Regions from separate parts of the Homo sapiens genome. Here regions 1 and 2 are each linked to region 3. The links are contacts of gene promoters, found by promoter capture Hi-C in human tissues and cell types (Jung and others, 2019). All regions are on one chromosome and are shown on one strand. The core of a region is centred on a gene start or on the middle of the fragment in contact, and the rest is flanking DNA. Distances in the headings are between cores, read along the strand shown.

Evidence for each region. The method cuts DNA at HindIII sites, captures the fragments that hold promoters and counts their contacts. A contact is called where the count stands out against the background at its distance.
Region 1: a contact is called between a fragment that was not itself captured here and the fragment with the promoter of ATP11A in region 3, in 1 of the 25 tissues and cell types used here (dorsolateral prefrontal cortex).
Region 2: a fragment that was not itself captured here is called in contact with the fragment with the promoter of ATP11A in region 3 in 1 of the 25 tissues and cell types used here (lymphoblastoid cells).

Annotation. Positions count from the first base shown.
Region 1 is chr13:111,479,256-111,483,396 of GRCh38, reverse strand. No RefSeq gene overlaps it. Among named protein-coding and RNA genes, the nearest start is that of LINC02337, 110 kb to the left of the region's middle. The HindIII fragment of the contact is 4,140 bases long and covers 49-4,141 here.
Region 2 is chr13:111,459,404-111,463,808 of GRCh38, reverse strand. No RefSeq gene overlaps it. Among named protein-coding and RNA genes, the nearest start is that of LINC02337, 130 kb to the left of the region's middle. The HindIII fragment of the contact is 5,092 bases long and covers 503-4,405 here.
Region 3 is chr13:112,688,788-112,693,191 of GRCh38, reverse strand. ATP11A (ATPase phospholipid transporting 11A) reads right to left here and starts at 3,154. Exons shown (of 30, transcript NM_015205.3): 1 at 2,737-3,154. The coding sequence starts at 2,775. It overlaps LOC102725228 (a long non-coding RNA gene), which reads left to right and starts at 3,377. Exons shown (of 2, transcript NR_187633.1): 1 at 3,377-3,529; 2 at 4,323-4,404. RefSeq lists enhancers at 1,000-1,501, 3,800-4,317 and silencers at 2,362-2,601, 2,622-3,551. The HindIII fragment of the contact is 4,763 bases long and covers 620-4,404 here.

The DNA of each region.
Region 1 (4,141 bases), core at 869-3,368, 1.2 Mb after region 3:
CCACAGGCCAGGTGGCTCGCAGCAACAGACGTGTGTTCCCTCCCAGTTCTGGACAAAGAAGGCCAACATCCAGGTGGGCTGGCTTCTTCTGGGGTGCAAGGGAGACTCTGGTCCCTTCCTCTCACCAGCTCCAGGGGCCCCACGTGCTCCTCATCTTCCCTGCACTTCTGTGGACACAATCCACCTCCTAATGCTCCCTGAGTAACAGACCTGTGGGTGTCTCCAGCCCCCTTTCATCCTCTCCGTAGCAGTCACCAAAACCCACCTTTCTTCAGCTCCTTCACCCACTACTCTGGGCTTCCCCCCTGGAAGCTTCTCCTGAAAATAAAGTCCCAAAGCAACGCACTCCTGCTGAGTCACACCCCCCTGCACCGAGCGAGGTGCATAGCGGCTGAGCCTGGCCCCGGGAGCTGCAGACTCACACCTGCTCAGCCAGCTCCTTGCCCCAAGGTCCGCACACAGCCCCCGACCCAACTCTCATGATGGTGGGGGCATGTGTCCCTCCCCTCTTACAGGCTTAGAGAAGGTCTGTGATGGGTGCGAACTTGTGCAGCCTGGCCCAGGGTTCCAGGATGGTGTCTCCATAGGGAAAGGCCAATGTGCCAGGGAGCAGCATGGTGGATGAAGGCCATGCTGGATGATAGCAACCTCTGCGTCATCATGCTCGCCTTTGTTTAGGAAGTCTACTCTCCACTTCTGGCCTTCAATGTGCATTGAATGGTTACCATCTTTTCCCTAACAAGGACATAAGGGTTCAGGTGCTACCCATCTGAAATGACCTCCTCACTCCCCTGTTACATATCAGGCAGTAATAACCCAAGGGTCTGAGTCTAGATCCTAAATCTTATGATTTCCTAGTGCCAATCCATTACTAATTAATTGCTAAGATTTATTGCCCAATTTCAGGGGGATCTTAGTAGGCACAGCTCTTGGAGTATCTTATTTAATTCTCCTACAACACCCTGCCATGGGTAACAGGAAGGTGAGTCTGTGGCAAGTCATGACATTTGGATGTGGCTCCTCATGGGCACGGTTCTGGGGAACCCAAGCTGAGAGCTGGCCTCCAGCACCAGCGTCACCACCCCGCCCTGGCCGAGGTAGGAGTCACTGTTGCAACCTAAGAGCCAGTGATGTGCTGCCAGCCCCAGTGCCACAGGAAACACAAAGCATTACAGATTTCTGATTGTTTAAAATCTTGTACATTTTCTGTAACATTTGATTGACACAAAAAGAATGACTAACGTGGCCAGGCACGGTGGCTCACATCTGCAATCCCAGCACTTTGGGAGGCTGAGGCGGGTGGATCACTTGAGGTCAGGAGTTCAAGACCAGCCCGGCCAACATGGTGAAACCCCATCTTTACTAAAAATATAAAAATTAGCCGGGCATGGTGGCAGGCACCTGTAATGTCAGCTACTTGGGAGGCTGAGGCAGGAGAACTGCTTGAACCCGGGAGGCAAAAGGTTGCAGTCAGCCAAGATCGCACCACTGCACTCCAGCCTGGGCAACAAGAGCGAAACTCTTCTCAGAAAAAAAAAAAAAAAAATTACTAACTGCCTAACTGCAGGAGATTTTAGAAAGCGTATTTCAAGTTTTTAGAAATGAAGTCCCAGTTTATAATAAGCATTTTACAGAACTCAAATTTCCACACAGCTAAACAAAAGGAAAAATGCAAAATAGTTTCTCATGGAAGCACTCAAGTCGTGCTGATCTGGGCACAGAAAGTCAAGGTTTGAAATATGCAAAGATTTAATTATGACATGAGGTAACTGACATCCTGGGAGAGGTCCTTTGGAAAGTTTCTCTCTTCAGCTGTAATTGCTTTGGGCTGGTATAAAATGGCTGCCCTGGAAAGTGTTCATAAAATAGAACCCATAGCTACTCACTCCCACCGAGACAGATTCTAATTTGTTTCCAAGCCTGCACCTGAAACTCCGTGCAGACACAGCTTCAAAAGCAACCTGAGAACGTTGCTACCAACAGTCACCATCTCTATTTCCAGACACCACTCGGGGATGCTGAAGCGTAATCCTAAATGATGATGTGACTTCATATTTTAATAACTGGCCATCATGTTTACTCTGGTTCCTCCTGGGGTTTCAGCACCAGCAATGTCCCCAGTGGGTGTTTGCTCAGCTGGGAAGGGCCTCCAGATCTGCCTTACAATGAGCCAAGCCGGCCCTCTCCTGCGACCGTGTTTACAGACTCTATCACTCATCCCCACCTAGCTGGCCAGCGCCCACCCTCACCACATGCGCATGTTCCCCGGCAGCTGGGCAACGGGGGCCGTCTGTGAGTGAAGCCAGCTCCTTTCACACCCACTTAGACACACTCCTAGAAAATGGGCCCAACGTGAACAGCTGTGCTTGGCTGGGGCTGTTGTAGGTAATCACGTTCTTCATGTACTTTCTTCACTCACAGTCCCTGTGAACCTCATCCCAGGAGAGCCCCCCCAGAAGACTTTCCTACATCCACTTCCTGCCGTCTGGGCTTCTCTCCCTGGCGGTCCCATTCTAATCCAAAGGTACTTTCAGAGAATGCTTTCTCCTCCTGGTTGAGTCTCATAAACCAGGCTGCAAAAGGCCGAGGAAGGAATGGGGAGCCAGAAGAAGGAGGGGGCAAAATACCAGAAAGGTGCCCACAGGATGGGAGAAGGATGCTGTGCTGCCGGACAGGGCAGCAGGATGGACACCGCCCGGAATGGCCACCACCGTCATCGTCTTCACTTCTGACGACAAGCACCAACTGCCCCTGCTGACATGTTATTACATCATTTTGTGCAAATCCTCTAAAAGTGATGCATCTGAGTAATCTCTTTACCAAACACAAGTCAGTCCCCTCCTTTTCTCATGGTGCAGGCTCTGCCCACACTAGCCTGTTGGTTTGGAAGGAGAAGAGCAGAGGTGCTCCTGCCCTTCGAAAGGAGTTGGGGGGCCTCCTAGGAGGCTTCTCAGATGTCAGCCCCTGCGATGAGGTTTTGCTGCTGTTTCACAGACAGGGGTCTGGTCTCCTGATGGGAGCACCGGACCTCAGAAGCTCCAAACTGGGCACGTGTGGCTCACCCTGCCCACCCAGGGTACCCCTAGCATCTCCCTGAGCCTCATGTGCTACCGCGTGTGCAGGGTAAGGGACACACATGGGGACATGGGGACACGGCGCCCTGGCCTGCAGGTCTGTAGCCACCCTTCCTAGTTCCCGTCTCCACCAGGCTTCTCCGCACCATGAGCAATTTCTTCAAATGCCAGCAGATTCTCCCTTCAGCTAGACACAATTCCCCTCTAACCCCGTCACTTATGTTTTGATTGAAGTCGTGTTTCTAGTTGCTGGAAGCTCTGCCTGGTTCTTCTTCAAAGCTTCCCGTACCTTCTTCCCAGTGGTTTTCATGGACCTCTGTTTCAGTTTCCTCTTGGGAAGATTTGGGTCTTGTTGCCTCTCTCTGGGCTCTGTTACGTGACGATCCTGCATCCTCCTCCTATTTGACGCACCTGACAAGAGTTCCCCTCAGCGCTGAAAATGGGCAATCTCTGCGTCAGGACATGGAAGACTTGGCAGAACATTTTAGAAGCCACTGGTTTACCCAGCACTTCTGGAATTTCTCAGAAATGAAGAGAACCGGCACGCCAGCTTCCTCAGCAAATTCTGGGTGAGTTGGTTCCTCTTGGGCTTCACATCTGGGGAGGATGAGCTCCTCTTCAGCAGGATTCGATCTGCGGGAAACCTGTGAGGTGCGGCCTCCAGGCATGTCTAGGGCCTGCGTCTGCAGGGCCTCAGAGGGGGATGCCCCGTCCTGGGACGGCCTGGGTGACTTCTCTTCGGGGGGTCCGCAGGCTGTGCTGGCAGCACGGTCCAGCCAGGGCAGGAGCGGAGCTGGGGCTGGAATCCAAACGCCACCATCCTCTCCTGCGGTCCAGCCTCCTGGCCACCAAGCACCAGTGCAGAGATGATTTCTAGAATGTGCTTTTACCAAGAATGGAACTTTTAGCAAGGACCCTGGCTTTATGGTGGGGGGGAAGTGACATTGCTTTCAATATTCCACTTGTTTATTTGGGGAGGACCAAAACACAGGTCTCTGGGTGACTGAGACCATGAGACCCACAATGCCGCCTGCCCCACCCTGGCTGCCAAAATACCACTTATTTAT
Region 2 (4,405 bases), core at 1,799-4,298, 1.2 Mb after region 3:
GACAAAGAGCAGCCCCCTGCATAAGACACGCCAAAAAGTTGGCGAGCTGGAGGAGGGCAGAGAGCTGCCGGCTACGAAAGAGACTCCACATGCAAAAACTTCTCAAGGCTCTTCCACTGGGAGGACATGGGTGCAAAGTGCAGCCAGTGTGGAAGAAAATGACATACAGCCGTGTCCATCCAGCCATCCTTAACTACAAGGGTTCAGCCTCACTCATTTAAATTTCTATCCACGTCAATTCAGTTTTGGTAAACAAAAGGCTAAAAGCATCACCTTACTGATACACTGGGAAGCAATGAAGAAGGAAAAATTCGAGACTCTGTAACAATTAGTTTTCTTTGTTTGTTTGTTTGCTTTTTTTTCTTAAATTGAGATGGAGTCTCGCTCTGTTGCCCAAGCTGGAGTGCAGTGGCACGATCTTGGCTCACTGCAACCTCCACCGCCTGGGTTCAAGTGATTCTCCTGCCTCAGCCTCCCAAGTAGCTGGGATTACAGGTACCCGCCACCATGCCTGGCTAATTCTTTTTGTATTTTAGTAGAGACGGGGTTTCAGCTTGTTGGCCCGGCTGGTCTTGAACTCCTAACCTATTCACCCGCCTTGGCCTCCCAAAATGCTGGGATAACAGGCATGAGCCACTACGCCTGGACTATAATAATTAGCTTAGCTTGCACATTCGGAAAACACAGAAGAAAGCAGAATTTAATCATTTTATTCCACATTCTTCAAAATGACAGCAAGTAAATAGACTGTATTGCAGAGCCTGGGCCATGTAGCATAAGTGGCCTTAGCTCTTTCAGGGCTTCAAGGCTGTAATGGGCTCATAAAGGACTGAATCCAGACAGTTCCCAAAGGTGGCATCAGTCTAGGAAAGTCAGGAGAAAATGTCACATGAAAGAAAGATGCAGGCTGCTTCCTCTGGCCAAGCAGGCACTCTTTTGAAGGGACCCCATCCTGGAAGGGGTCCTCCCGCCAGGTGAGGAAGCCCCTTATAAATAAATAGCTATTTATTTGGCCTCAGCCTCAGTAGCTCCCAGGAGCACACAGCAATGCTCAAAGATGCCCTGCAATGCTCTGGTGAAGCCATTTGTTCCGACGATGGCTGCGTTTCTCCCAGAACGCTGCGGCTTCTCTCAGTTTGAGTTGTGCTGCTGTCCTTCTACCTGGAGTTTGATTCAAAGTGTAGACACAACACAGGCTCAACCAGAACTTTTCTAAACTAGATTTCACAGACTCCAAATTCTCGAAGATGCCGCATTGTGCTGACCTGACTGACATCTCTAGGCTGGCAGAGAAGACGGGGGTGTGGAAAGGCAAGGAACAAACCCCGGAGCGAACCCCTCAGACAAGAGGCAGAAAGCAGCCTGTCCTCCGTCCACACCTGGAGTCTGTATCCTGCTCCAAACAGAGAGTGCGCCCCTCCCATCAGTGTCCAGCCCATGCCACTGGCTCCGAGGTGCTTGGGACAGAACTTTGATACCCACTTTCTAGGTGGGAAAACTGAGCCCAGGTTTGTGAACTGCAATTGATATCAGAGGCAATTTTAGTGTGCAAGGCAAGCGGGCCTCCCCATTCCATCCCAGTCCAATGTGGGCCTTTTAAAAACGCTGGTGAAAGCCACATATACAATTGACCACCTTCACCAGGTGTAGGGTCACAGTCCCCTTGTGCTAACCCCTTCTTACTGGGCGGCAGTCCTCCAGCACTGACCGGAAGAGGTGGGGCCGGCCTGCCCTCCCCCTCCTCCCCCCACCCTCCCCTACCGGCTGTTGTGCAGGGCCTGGTGGGGAGCGAGTCCCCAGCCTCTGTGCCCTGACTCACTGGGGCACCGGCGCAGAACCTCTGTTCTGCAGCTCCTTGGGAATGCACCTGCTTCACCACTCAGGACACACCTGCAGCCTTGGGGAGCTCCTTTATCTGAGAGGAAGCCCTTTCCAGGGCAGGGTTTCCTCTAAAGAGCCCACGCTTGGCCCAGAGGAAACAGCCTGTGTCTTTCTTTGATGTGACATTTTCCCCTGGCTTTTCTCCTCTGGGTGTCACTACCTTCTCTGACAATGATGTGATGCATGCTTGACGCTTCCTCTCCTCCACTATTGCTCAAGGTCCACAGTTTACCAGTCCCAGGCGAGTGTGCAGGAGGACCAAGTCCAGGTTCTGAGCACCCAGGAACAGCGCTCACCCACCCAGGCTTACCCAGGCACAGTGCTCAACCCCACAGACACAGTGCTCGCCCACACATAGTCCTCGCCCAGGCACAGTGCTTGCCCAGGCACAGTACTCACCCAGACATAGTGCTTGCCCGCCCAGGCACAGTGCTCACCCAGGCACAGCGCTCACTCAGGCACAACACACACCCAGGCACAGTGCTCACTCAGGCACAGTACTCACCCAGACATAGTGCTTGCCCGCCCAGGCACAGTGCTCACCCAGGCACAGAGCTCACCCAGGCACAATACACACCCAGGCACAGTGCTCACTCAGGCACAGCACTCACCCAGGCACAGTACTCACCCAGACATAGTGCTTGCCCGCCCAGGCACAGTACTCACCCAGGCACAGCGCTCACCAAGGCACAGCACTCACCCAGGCACAGCGCTCACCCAGGCACAGTACTCACCTAGGCACAGTGCTCACCCATGTAGGTACAGTGTTCACCCGCCCAGGCACAGTGCTTGCCTGCCCAGGCACAGTGCTCACCCAGGCACAGTACTTGCCCAGGCACAGTGCTTGCCTCCCCAGGCACAGTGCTCACCCACCTAGGCAGTGCTCGCCAGGCCCGTGCCAGGCTCCACAATGCCACTCAGCACTGTGTTCTTCAGAACTGATTCCACGACCACGTGCCCCATCAATTGCCAGTGCCTTCTTGGCATTGCCTTCCTCAAAGGTGTTTGTGTGTTCCTTTTTAAAAAAGCGAGGAGCTACCTGGAGAGACCTGCCTGGTGAGCCTGAAAGCACACATTCTTAGAAGGATGACAATAACTCATCCTAGCTCTTCATCTCTGCCGTGGTGAAGGGCGTGAGACAAACGCAGCACCGGCTTCGTGGCTCGGTGAGTCGGCCACAGCAGCCCACAGGGACGTTCCAGCATCTCCTCACTAGATGGCGACGACCTCACAAGTTCCTAATCCATTGAGCCAGCACCTGTCCCAAGGCCAGCAACTGCTTCCAGCAGTTTCTTTAGGAAAAATATCCTGAGCAGTGCCTTGCCTTGTGGCTGAAACCATCCCTGCACCGGTCCTCACAGGAGAGGCCGAAGCTTGAGCCTGAGCTGGGGCATGCTGACCAGAGGGGCCTCACCCTGCCTGGCCCTGAGCTGCGGTTCACAATCCTGCATTATCTGCCAAGCAGAGGGAAAGGCACAACTGCAAACCACCTTCACTTGCAGCGAAGAAAAGCAAATCTGCTGCAGGCAGGAGCCCCCAGATCCCTCGCCGGGACCCACTCCACCCTGAGCAGCACGGACCTCAGGAGGCAACCAGGCCCCGAGACAAGGCCTTACAGCAACACCAGTCCAGTGTGGCCAGCAACCAGGTCTCCTCCCTAATACGGAACCCCATCTCATAAGTCAGCTTTATCATGTCTCTCATATCCCTCCTCCTTGCCCCTTTCCCCTTCTCTCTTCACTCTGTCTTCCCGCTTTCTTCCTTCTTCCCCACTCTCTCTTCTCCCTCTCTCCTCCTCTCTCCTGCTCTTCCTCTCCTTCTCCCTCTTTCCCCTTCTCCCCCTCTCTCCCTCCTCCTCTTTCCCTCTTCCTCCCCCCTCTCCCTGTCTCTCTCCCTCCCCTTTTCCTTCTTTCTCTGTCTCCTCCTCTCCACTCCTCTCCTTCTTCCCCTCTTCTTTCCCTCTTCCCCTCTTCTCTCTCTCCCTCTTTTCCTCTCCTTCTCCCTCTCCTCCTCTCCTTCTTCCTGTCTCTCTCCTTCCCCCTTTCCTTCTCTCTCCCTCCTTCTCTCTTCCCCTCTCCCCGCTCTCTCCTGCTCTTCCTCTCTTCTCCTTCCCCCTCCCTTCTCTCTCTTCGTCTCCTTCTCCTCTCCCTTCTTCTCTTCCCCTCTCCCCCACTCCCTGCCGCTCTTTTCCTTTCTCTCTCTCCCCTTCTCTCTTCCCCTCTCCCGCTCTCTCTCCCTCTTCCCCCTCCCCCTCTCCTTCTCTCTCTCCCCTTCTCTTTCTCTTTCTCCCTCCTCCTCCCCTCTCTCTCTCACACACACCCCTCCTCCACTCCTCCTTTCCCTCTAAAGCTTTCATGAGTTATTTCACAAGGAACACAAGTTCAAAACAGAAAACATGCTCTTCCCTTTCTCTTGTTCCCTATAACGTTTTTGTCAATCACTTCTTATATGAACCTAAGCTTTCTTACCCGTGAAATTTGAAAATCTTGTTTTTTTGCACCACATATGTGCACAGGATGTGTAA
Region 3 (4,404 bases), core at 1,905-4,404:
CCAGTAACACACAGTGTGGAGTACCTGGCTACCCTGGCCTAACCTTCATCTGTTCTCTCACTCATTTGCCTCTGCTATCTCTCCAGGGTTAATCCACAATAAAATGCCTACAGCAATGTTTTCCAAGGACTTCTTTATCTTTTAGCCACCCTCACACATCAGAAGGAGCTGGAAAGCTTTCTTTGTCCCAGGAATTCTGACTATGTGAACACCAAGAAGGAACAGGGTCTATTTATCTATCCTTTTTAATAAAGTAAGTCACATAAGGAAACCATGAGGAAATATGAGTATTCAATCCCAGACTCTTTTTTCTGTAGCAAAAGGAAATATAATTTAGTCCTACATAGTGGACGATAACGCAATTACAAGAAAACAGATCATGACTGTTTCTGGAAAAAGTCAAATTAGTTTAATACCATAGACATGAACTTAAAATGATAGAGATGAATGGCTCTGTGTGTAAATATGGGTGAGGTAGCCAGATGAATACACTGCAAAAAACACAGGTGGAATGAGAAAAACAGAAATAATATTATCCCACAACTCGTATTCCCGAGACGTTATCCAATAATGTATATGCTGGAAAAGTTCACTAAAGAATATTTACCGCTTAGATTAAAAGAAAATGTGATGCCATAAGCGTAATAATACAGCAAAGGGGAATTAAAAATGCAAGCTACGCAAACACTTATATAGATCTATATAACAGAAAACAGCTGAAGGCCTGGAGAAAGGGAGTCAAGCATCAAAATTGGACGTCTGTCTGTCCCCCTCCCAAGATGAAGGGGTCAGAAACCGGCTGGGAAGGGGGGATTCTCCAAAGGGTGAGCCGGGCTGGCCCATCCATCTCTCATTTCTATGGAAAGAGGCTGCACATTAGCCCCACAACGTGACCCTCCTTTTTAACACTGAGTGTTAGAAGGGAACGGAATGAACTGGGAACACCGCGGGCAAAGTGAGTGTTAGTCCCTTCCCTCTTCCATTTCGCTCGAAGGAAACAAAGCAGGAAAATAAGGTGTCTAGGGACCCACACTTCTGAGCGACACAACTGAGAACAGAAGCTTCCGCCCAATAAAGCATTTCTCTTACACTGCAGGTTACCTATAGTCACTGTGATTGGGTCTTCTATAACGTTACCACAGTGAAACACAGGTTTACCACTCACATTAGGATTTGAACTGGGGGCTCGAGCACCAGTGAGGGAGTAACACAAGGCTCCTGGAGCCAAGCCTTTCAAGATCTAGCATCGGAATCATCAGAATCACCAGGGGTGAGTTCTCTCCACTTAAGTAAGTCAGGCTGACCTTCCTAAGGCTTCCCCGAGATCAGGAAACGATGTAAGGTGCACTCAAGTCTCCTTGACTCTCCGAGGTTTTTGGTTAATAAATAAATCCGGGGGAAAGCATTGATCTGGCATCCCCCACTGAAAAGAAACCTATCTATCTTTGGCCAAGGTCTCCTATTTAAAGAAGGCTCATAAATATGAAAGGCTGCCTGAGGTAATTCCTATGCCGGGAAAGAACAAAGTTCCCATAATACTGCCCTCTCTAGTATCAAACCCGGTGCATGCGACTTCTCGAACCTGTGATTGACCAGTGACCGCCAGCCTCTATGGAACAATGAAGCCTCTTGTGCAAGACAGTGGCAGGAAACGCTGTGCTTGGGACAGTTTTCTTCCTCTCCTACACACACACACACACACACACACCCTTTTTTTTTTTTTTTTTTGATACAGAGTCTCGCTCTGTCACCCAGGTTGGAGTGCAGTGGCTCGATCTCGGCTCATTGCAACCACCGCCTCCCGGGTTCAAGCGATTCTCCTGCCTCAGCCTCCTGAGTAGCTGGGATCCCAGGCGCCTACCACCACGCCCGGCTAATTTTCGTATTTTTTAGCAGAGACGGGGTTTCACCATGTCGGTCCGGCTGGTCTCAAACTCCTGACCTCGTGATCCGCCCGCCTCGGCCTCCAAAAGTGCTGGGATTACAGGCGTGAGCCACCGCGCCCGGCCACACACCCCTTTTTACACCTAACGCCAGGGATTCCGGTTTCCCCTCCTCTGGTGTAAAACAAAATCAACTTTTCCCCTTCCGAGTCTTCCCTCCTGAGCTCTTCACTTGCTTATCACTGAAGGGGCAAATTCCAGAGGAACCCAAGAAGACCCCGGACTTCTGATCTAATTGGTTACTTTAAGGTAAAAAATAAAAAGATTCCAAACTCCGCTTCTGAATCCCCCAGGGGTGTTAAAGAACAAACACAATTGCTACCTTTTTCTGCAGAAGTGTAACGCTTCCTCCCAATCCCTTAATCTTACAGACACGGCTGCGCGGAAGCCGCATCTGAAGGTTCCTCCCCAGACCCGGGCCCCGGCGGGGTCGAAGTTGGCTCCCTCCGGGCGCCCGGTCCGCCGGGACAGCTCGAACCCCAGCCAGCCTCTCCGAGGGACCCCCAGGGCGCTGCGGGCGGGAAGGGGGCGCCAGGCGGCCGCGGCCAGGGAGCAGGTGGCCGCCCGGGGCTGGGGCCCCGCGCTGTGCCCACCTAGACCCCGTCGGAAGCCCCAGGGTGTCAACTCCGAGGCCCCTCCCCAGCATCCCGCTCGTCCCCGGGGGCGGTCCGAGTCCCAGACATCGGAGACCTCCCGGGACCCCGGGGCTGGACCGGCCACAGGGTCCGGGCTGCGGGGCCGGCCCGCGTCTGTCTGGTCCCCGGGTCCCCCAGCCCGCGCCGGGAGCACTCACGTATCTGTGCACGAGCGTCCGCACGAGGCTGCAGTCCATGGCTCCTCCGGCCGCTCCCGCTCCGCCGTTCAGCGCCCCCGCGCCCGGCTCGGCGCGCCCATGGGCTCCGGGGTACTAGTGCGGCCGCGCCCCCCGCTCCGGTCACGGCCTCGGCGCGCCGGGCGGTGCAGGGGGCGGCCGCGGCCCCTCCGCGCTCATGCCCGGCCCGGCCGGCGAATGCTGGGTCCGCGGCCCCGCGCGTCGGCAGCTGCTCCACTGGCGGCAAGGCTGCTGCTCGGGGCCGCGCGCGCGCGCTCTGGCGCCTTCTCTCTCCCCGTCGGTCCGCCCGCTCGGTTGGGCTCGGCTGGAGCACCCCGGCCGCGGCGGAGCCTGCGCTCTGCTCCTCCCGAGTCTCCTCCTCCCCTGCCCGCCGCCCTCTGGAGCCTCCGGGCCCCGCTGGCTCCTGCCCCTGCTCCGGGCGCGCACGTCACCGGCGCAAGTGAGCATGCGCCCCGCGGCCGCAGCCCCCGCCGGCCCCGCGCCCACACCCGCGCTCGCACCCGCGCGCCGGCCCTGCCCCCTCGCGCCTCCGCCCGGGCCCCAGACCCTGGGGGCAGAGGGCAGAGGGCAGAGGTCAGAGGCCGCGGGGAGGAACCCCCCTGTTGCTTCCGCCTCCCGGGGCGCAGGCGCTGGGCGCGGCGGGGAAGGGACTCGGCACTGGGGAAACCCGGAGTTTCAGCCAGGGTCCCAGGGCTTCCTTCCCGGGTTCCTGCCGGAAAACTTTTCTCCTCCGCCCGGAAGCCTCGATGGGGCAGTGAGATCGCGGGGCGAGGTGGGAGTGTGGGAGGGGGCCGCGGGCAGAGAGCGGGAGTCCGGCTGGGTGGGAGATCTCCTGAGCCGAAGCTGGGTCTCGCCCCAGCGTGGCGCCACCGACCCGCAGGCTTTTCCTGCTCTGCAGATGGAGAGACACAGGGACGCTCCTCAGGTGGCTGCCCTGGGCTGCCAGCCTGTCAGTGGGAGGGGAGGGTGCAGACAAGAGGCCCCTGTTTCCGAAACCCCTCTGTCCCCAAAGCTGCGACAGCAGAAGACACTTAGGCGGCCTGAGGGGTTGGTGAACCACAGAGGAGCTCAGCTTCGCCTGGTCTCCAGCTCCCGGTGGCGGTGGCGTGTCCTTAATGCTGCTGGCTTTGAACTGGACTGAGAACTATTTACCACACAAACACCACCATTTCAATCCCGGAGAATGCCTGTTTTCCCTAGGGTGACCTGGCCGGGGTAACAAACACTTGTTCTCTAATTCCACGGTCAGCCTTGACTTAATTGAGGTACTTGATTTCCAACTTCCTGTCTTGCTGCCACAGATAATCACTGATGAAACCAAACAGGCAACACCTTTTGGTGGCCTGTGGAGAGCGCTGCCCCGTCTGGGTCTTAGGAAGGCAATTGAATATGAATGTTCTCCCGAGTGCTTGTGGAAAAGAGATGGTGTTGGCCACTTTTTAGACGAAGAGAAATGAGTACTAGTGAACACTAATCATAGTGACTAAACAGTAAACGGCTCCCATTTGTTGTCGGCTAAAGCACTGATTCTTCATTTTCCATCCCAGCCTGTCCTGCTCTGGCCTGCCCTGTGCTCAGGAAGCTGGCGGTCCCCCTCAGTGGATCTTCACCCACAGGGACAACCTGCTG